Regions from separate parts of the Homo sapiens genome. Here region 2 is linked to region 1. The links are contacts of gene promoters, found by promoter capture Hi-C in blood cells and fetal thymus (Javierre and others, 2016). All regions are on one chromosome and are shown on one strand. Each heading gives the region's core, a stretch centred on a gene start or on the middle of the fragment in contact. The rest is flanking DNA. Distances are from core to core; before and after follow the strand shown.

Region 1 (2,700 bases), core at 27-2,526:
AAGTAATTCTTTCTCAAGTTGCAGCAGAAGGAGTTTTTGTATTTTCTAACTGGTCTGATAAGCACAAAGAAGTCGTTTTTTTTACTTAGAAATGCCATTTTACAGGAGGCTGAGGTGGTGGGATCACTTGGGCCAGAGCTCAAGATCAGCCTGGGAAACAGTTAGATACCTGCCCCCAGCACCCAAATTAAAAGTACAAAAAATCTGGGTGCGGTCGTGAATTCCTGTAATCCCAGCTACTTGGGAGTGGAGGTGGAAGGACTGCTTGAGCTCAGGAGTTGGAGACTGGGCAACAGAGCAAGACTCATCTCAAAAAAAAAAAAAAAAAAGAGAAATGTCACCACTTTAAACTGGTTCCCATCAACCTTTTTGATACAAAGAAATTTTACTTTTGTTAAACTATTTTAGACCACTGTATCAGTTATTATATGTGACTAGGTAGCATGATAACCTATAATTTATGCCTTGAAATAATTTTGACTCATTTTCTTCCCACATCTGTATTTATGAGCCGGGGCAGCTGTGGGGTGGTTCTTTGTGTGGGATTAAGAGACACTGCAGTTCTTGAAATAAACCAGATGTTTGAATTTTCAAAGGAAAAGTTCACACCTAGTGAAGTATTTATTTACAAGCTCCACAACAAAACAAGAGATTATAAGAAAACTTTCAAGGGACATGGGTCACAGAAACCAACAGGAACACCACAGCTTTCCCAACTTCATGGCCCCGGGGGATGTTACAAAAGACACAGAAACGCCGATCTTGTGCTGACTGTAAACATTTGTCAACTAGTGTTACAATGACTAAGAAATTACAAAAGAGTTACAATCTGATGAAGAGCGATTCCTGCTTTGACTTTATTTGGTTTCTATCCACTTTTCCAACATACCTTATAAAATACATGCAAAAAACTGGTTTTAGAAAGCGTTCCCTAAAATTAGTGTGTACGGAAACTTCAGGTATACTTCTGCTTTCCTCCGCAAAACCACCCCTTTTTAAAAATCGAAAGTGAAATTAGTTTTTTTTTCTGTTAGTGACTAATCATTGGAGACAACCATGTTTAGTATTTGAGCATTGGTTAAATGCTAAAGAAAAATCGCCGTTAAAGCAGTTTTCTTTTTCACTGTCTTTTTCTTTTCGCGGGGAACCCAGCTGTTCCTGCGAGGGCCACCTCCTCAGGAAGACCCCGCAGCTCTCCCGCGGCGCTTCTGCAGGAGGCAGCGACAGTTTCGAGAACCCGGGCCTTCCCCTCCCAGTGCCTCCCGGGGTTCCGGCGTTTCAGGCGCTGCTGTTTTCCGGGAAGGGCAGGCGCGCTGGGCCTTGGGGAGCTGCGCTCGGCGGGCGGACGCGGGTGAGTGGGGAGTCCCTTCCCCGGCTGCCACTCCCGCCGCTGGCAGTCCCGGGCTGGAGAGCCGGGGGTGGAAAGGGAGGTGGGAGCCCTCAGCGCCGACGGAAGTGGGACAGCGCCGGAGTTGAGACCCTGCTCCCCGGGAGCTGCCCGCAGCCGAGTCGCGGAGGCCACGCCGCCTTCGAGGGGGCGCACCTGCTCCTGGGCCCGCTGTGCAGTCTCTGGGCCGTCAGGGCTTCGAGCCTTGTCACTTGTTTGCTTTGCTTCATTGAGGAAATTGAAACATAAAGTTATTTGTGTTTCCTCGCTGTTTTCTCTCTTTTTTTTTTTTTTTTTTTTTTTTGAGACGGAGTCTCGCTCTGTCGCTCAGGCTGGAGTGCAGTGGCGCGATCTCGGCTCACTGCAAGCTCCGCCTCCCGGGTTCACGCCATTCTCCAGCCTCAGCCTCCCGAGTAGAGTAGCTGGGACTACAGGCGCCCGCCACCACGCCTGGCTAATTTTTTTTTTTGTATTTTTAGTAGAGACGGGGTTTCACCGTGTTAACCAGGATGGATACGATCTCCTGACCTCGTGATCCGCACGCCTCGGCCTCCCAAAGTGCTGGGATTACAGGCGTGAGCCACCGCGCCCGGCCCTCGCTGTTTTCTCCGAGTGTCTCTGGAGATAGTCCTTAGGAAAACGGATTTCTTAAGAAAACGATTCTTGGTAGGGGCAGTGTTGTGCAGTCATGGCTGGCGTGTCAGAATAGGCAAGGTTTTTCTTGAAGGAGACATCCGAAGGAGAATACTGTGTTTCCAGTCTGTACAACAGGCAGACGTTCTATTGCCTTTCTTTTTGCTGCCACGCATGCATATAGGAAGATTCGATTCTACACGGCCTGGCACCGCAGTTATATGATTGTATTACGGAAATACGGTGATGTTGATTTGTATCAGTTTTTTTAATTCGCTGCCATAACAAATTACATGGCTTTAGTGGCTTAAACACATAGGAACGCGCGCGCGCGCGCACACACACACACACACACACACTCACATACACAATTTACTATCTTAGGATTCTGTAGCAGTCCTACTGAGGTCTCACTGGGTTAAAATCAAAGTGTTGGCAGGGTTGCCTTCCTTTCTGGAAGCTCTTGGGGTGAATCCTCTTTCCATCTTCCGGAGGCCACCTACCTTATTTGGCTCAGCAGCCCTTCCTCCATCTTCAGGGCCAGCAACATTGCGCCTCTGAAAGTTCTTCCGGGGTCACATTTCACTCTTGACTCTTCTTCTGTCTTCCGCTTTCACTTTTAAGTAGCCTCATGATTACACTGGGCTCCCACAGATAATCCAGGATGCTCTCCATATTTA
Region 2 (2,736 bases), core at 149-2,648, 2.4 Mb after region 1:
AGGGGGTGGGGGAGAAAAGGTGGGGAAGGGAGATAGAGAGGGAGGGGGGTCCGAGCCGCACGAAGTAACTTCTGCTCTTGGCACAGGGGGCTACTGCGCTCTGAGCCCCCTCGCCCCACAGATGTGGACACAGCCTCCTCTCCACCCAGCGTGAGGCGCATCAGAGGGTCTGCAGACATGGGAGGGAGGTCATCCCAGAGGGGAGGGATCAAGCCGGGACTCCACATCCAGGGCAGCCAGGCGTGAGAGGAAGCGGGAGACACACCAGGCCTCCAGGGGACACCGAGGCCACCAGTACTCCCCCAACCCTCCGCCTTCCGCGCGCGGAGCCAGGTGTAACACCGCGGGGAGCCGCGTCTACACTGCCGCGGGAGCTCCGAGACGCGACTAGAAATTTTCCTGTACCCCTTTTTCTTTCTTTTTTGCTAGGGTCGTGAGAAGAAGAGGCAAGGCGTTTGGTAAATCGAATTGATTGATGCCCAGAAGCATTTGCGGGTTGCAGAGCTCACACTTTAAAGGGGGCCTGGGCACCCGGCTTGAGGGTCACCCGAACACACTACCCACGCGGCGAGGCGAGCGTGGGGAACAATGGGCCCACCCGGGCCCCCACCCGGCGAACAATGGCGGCGCCGAGCCCGTCTTCGCCCCCCATCCCCACCCCCGCCACCCCCGCCCGGCCCGCCGCTCCCGGCCGCCTCTCCACCCGCCCGGGAGGGAACCATAGTGCGCGGGGCGAGGGGTCTCTGGTCAGGTCCACCCGAGAGGCCAGCCCCGCGGGAATGTCCGAGGGGGCGGCCTAAACACCTCCGCTGCGTCTGGGGCGTCGGGGCGCCCAGCTGCGGCGCGGAGCAGCAGGGAAGGCAGACGCCCCAGCCACTTACCCCGATCACCACGGTCTCATCGCCTTTAAATTTGGGGATGAATTTGTCCCCGCGGAGGATCTCCGCTTCGTTGAGGGGCCGGAACCGGCACATCACTTTGATGCTGCATTCGGCTGGATCCGCCATCTCGGCCGGCGGTAGGGAGGGGGCACGGGGATGGGTGGGGGGCCGGGGCCGGGAACGACGAGGGAGGAGGCCGCGAGCTGCACCGCCCACAGCTAGGCCGCCTCCTGCAGCCTCCGACGACGCTTCTCAGCAGGTCATCGCGAGCCCGGCCGGCTGAGCAGCCCCGGCCGCTCCGAGCCCGGGAAGGTGGGCAGCTTCTCCGCTCCGGCCCCTCCGGCTGCAGACCGGCCTGCCCTGGCCCTGCCCCGCCCCTGCCCAGCGCCCCCCGGCCCACCTGCCCGCGACCACGCGGCGGGCGGAGGAGGCGATGCGCAGGGAGCGAGCCTCGCCCGGCTCAGACCTCCCGGGCTCCTGCGCGCTCAGCCATCCTGCATCAGCACCAGCGCGCTCTGCCGCCTTGAGACCCGCCCCTCCGCCCCGCCCTCCCCTGGCCCGCCCCGGGACGGTGACGTCACCGTAGAGGTCCGCCCGGCCCCCGCCCGACTCCGAGCGCTGCGCATCCCGGGACTTGTAGTCACTCTACCTGCCGGGGGAAGGACAGGATGCGACCTCCAAGAGCCTGCAAGTCCGGTCTGGCTGCCCAAGCCGGAACCGGATGGAGGTCATATCCAATATTTCCGGTTAAAATCTCTAGATAACTGGGTCTGGATCATCCTGATCCCAAAAGAAAATCACTTGGGAAACAGCTCCCAATAGCCCCTGGGTTTCATCCTTCAACTTCTACCACTAGATAAGGATGGATGTCTGTTCAGAGTTTGGGTTTGATTGGCCTTGGTTTAGGTTGGCATCTAGTGCTAAACCAATCAACCAGAATCAGGGATTTTGTAAGATTATGGAGGAATCCCTTGGTGGGAAGGTTCCCAAAAGAAGAGGGATGGTATTCCCAGACATGGTGCCGGGCTGGCAGAACAACTGAGTGTCCACTCTATTTTTCCAGAACTTCCTTTTCCTCTAAGACCTAGCTCAACCCTCCTTCCTCAGACTTTCCCAGCTCACTAAACACCTATAAAGAGTTGGTGGCCCTCCTTGATGTTCCCCTAATCTGCTGTGCCTGTCTCTAGCACTGCACTTGGGTGGTGATATCTGCTTGATATCTTTGTGTCTGTAGCATCTAGCACATAGTGGGCAGCATACTGAATAAGGATTCTACCCTAGGAAGAAGCAATGCATGAGTGTGAATCCCACCTCAGCCACTTATTAGATGTATGACCAACAGGCGGAGGAAATTAAGAGCGGAGGAAATTAAGAAGTCTTAATTTCCTTAAGACTCAGTTTCCTCATCTCTGTCATTGGAATAATATCATCTTGTGATTTCTGGGGGAATTAAAAGACAGATGCTTTTAAAGCACCTAGCACGGTGCCTGACATGTATATAGGATAAGCTCTTGAAAGTTAGATGTTATTGGGTGCTGAACAAATGATCATAAAACAAATAAGTTAGTTAATTTTAGGAACACATCTGTTGCTTAAATTCGGGTAATACCTGAAAATACAAGTGTTCTCTGCCTAGCTGAGAGGACAGACCTACTAAAATCAACTTTTATAAACCCTTGTAAGTAGTACCAGTTCTATTTCATCTCCTCATGTGCAGTGGAAGTAGATTAAAAAGACCCAGGTGCCACCTTCTCATCTGTTTTTAAATTAAGTAATTCTCAGGCTCTGGCTCAGAGACCCATCATCTTAAATGATCAACTTCATAATATACTAGAGAGGACAATCCAATTCTCAG

Evidence for each region. The method cuts DNA at HindIII sites, captures the fragments that hold promoters and counts their contacts. A CHiCAGO score of 5 or more calls a contact.
Region 2: a contact is called between the fragment with the promoter of KIF5C here and the fragment with the promoter of NMI in region 1, in 1 of 17 cell types (naive CD8 T cells). The highest score is 11.7, in naive CD8 T cells.

The regions. Positions count from the first base shown.
Region 1 is chr2:151,288,244-151,290,943 of GRCh38, reverse strand. NMI (N-myc and STAT interactor) reads left to right here and starts at 1,276. Exons shown (of 8, transcript NM_004688.3): 1 at 1,276-1,351. RefSeq lists enhancers at 688-1,107, 1,168-1,247, 1,638-1,687, 1,708-1,757, 2,558-2,700 and a silencer at 1,308-1,507. The HindIII fragment of the contact is 4,870 bases long and covers 1-2,700 here.
Region 2 is chr2:148,873,889-148,876,624 of GRCh38, reverse strand. It overlaps KIF5C (kinesin family member 5C), which reads right to left and starts at 1,398. Exons shown (of 26, transcript NM_004522.3): 1 at 882-1,398. The coding sequence starts at 1,007. KIF5C-AS1 (KIF5C antisense RNA 1) reads left to right here. Exons shown (of 4, transcript XR_001739733.2): 4 at 430-2,736. RefSeq lists enhancers at 1-153, 154-732 and a silencer at 1,105-1,574. The HindIII fragment of the contact is 10,493 bases long and covers 1-2,736 here.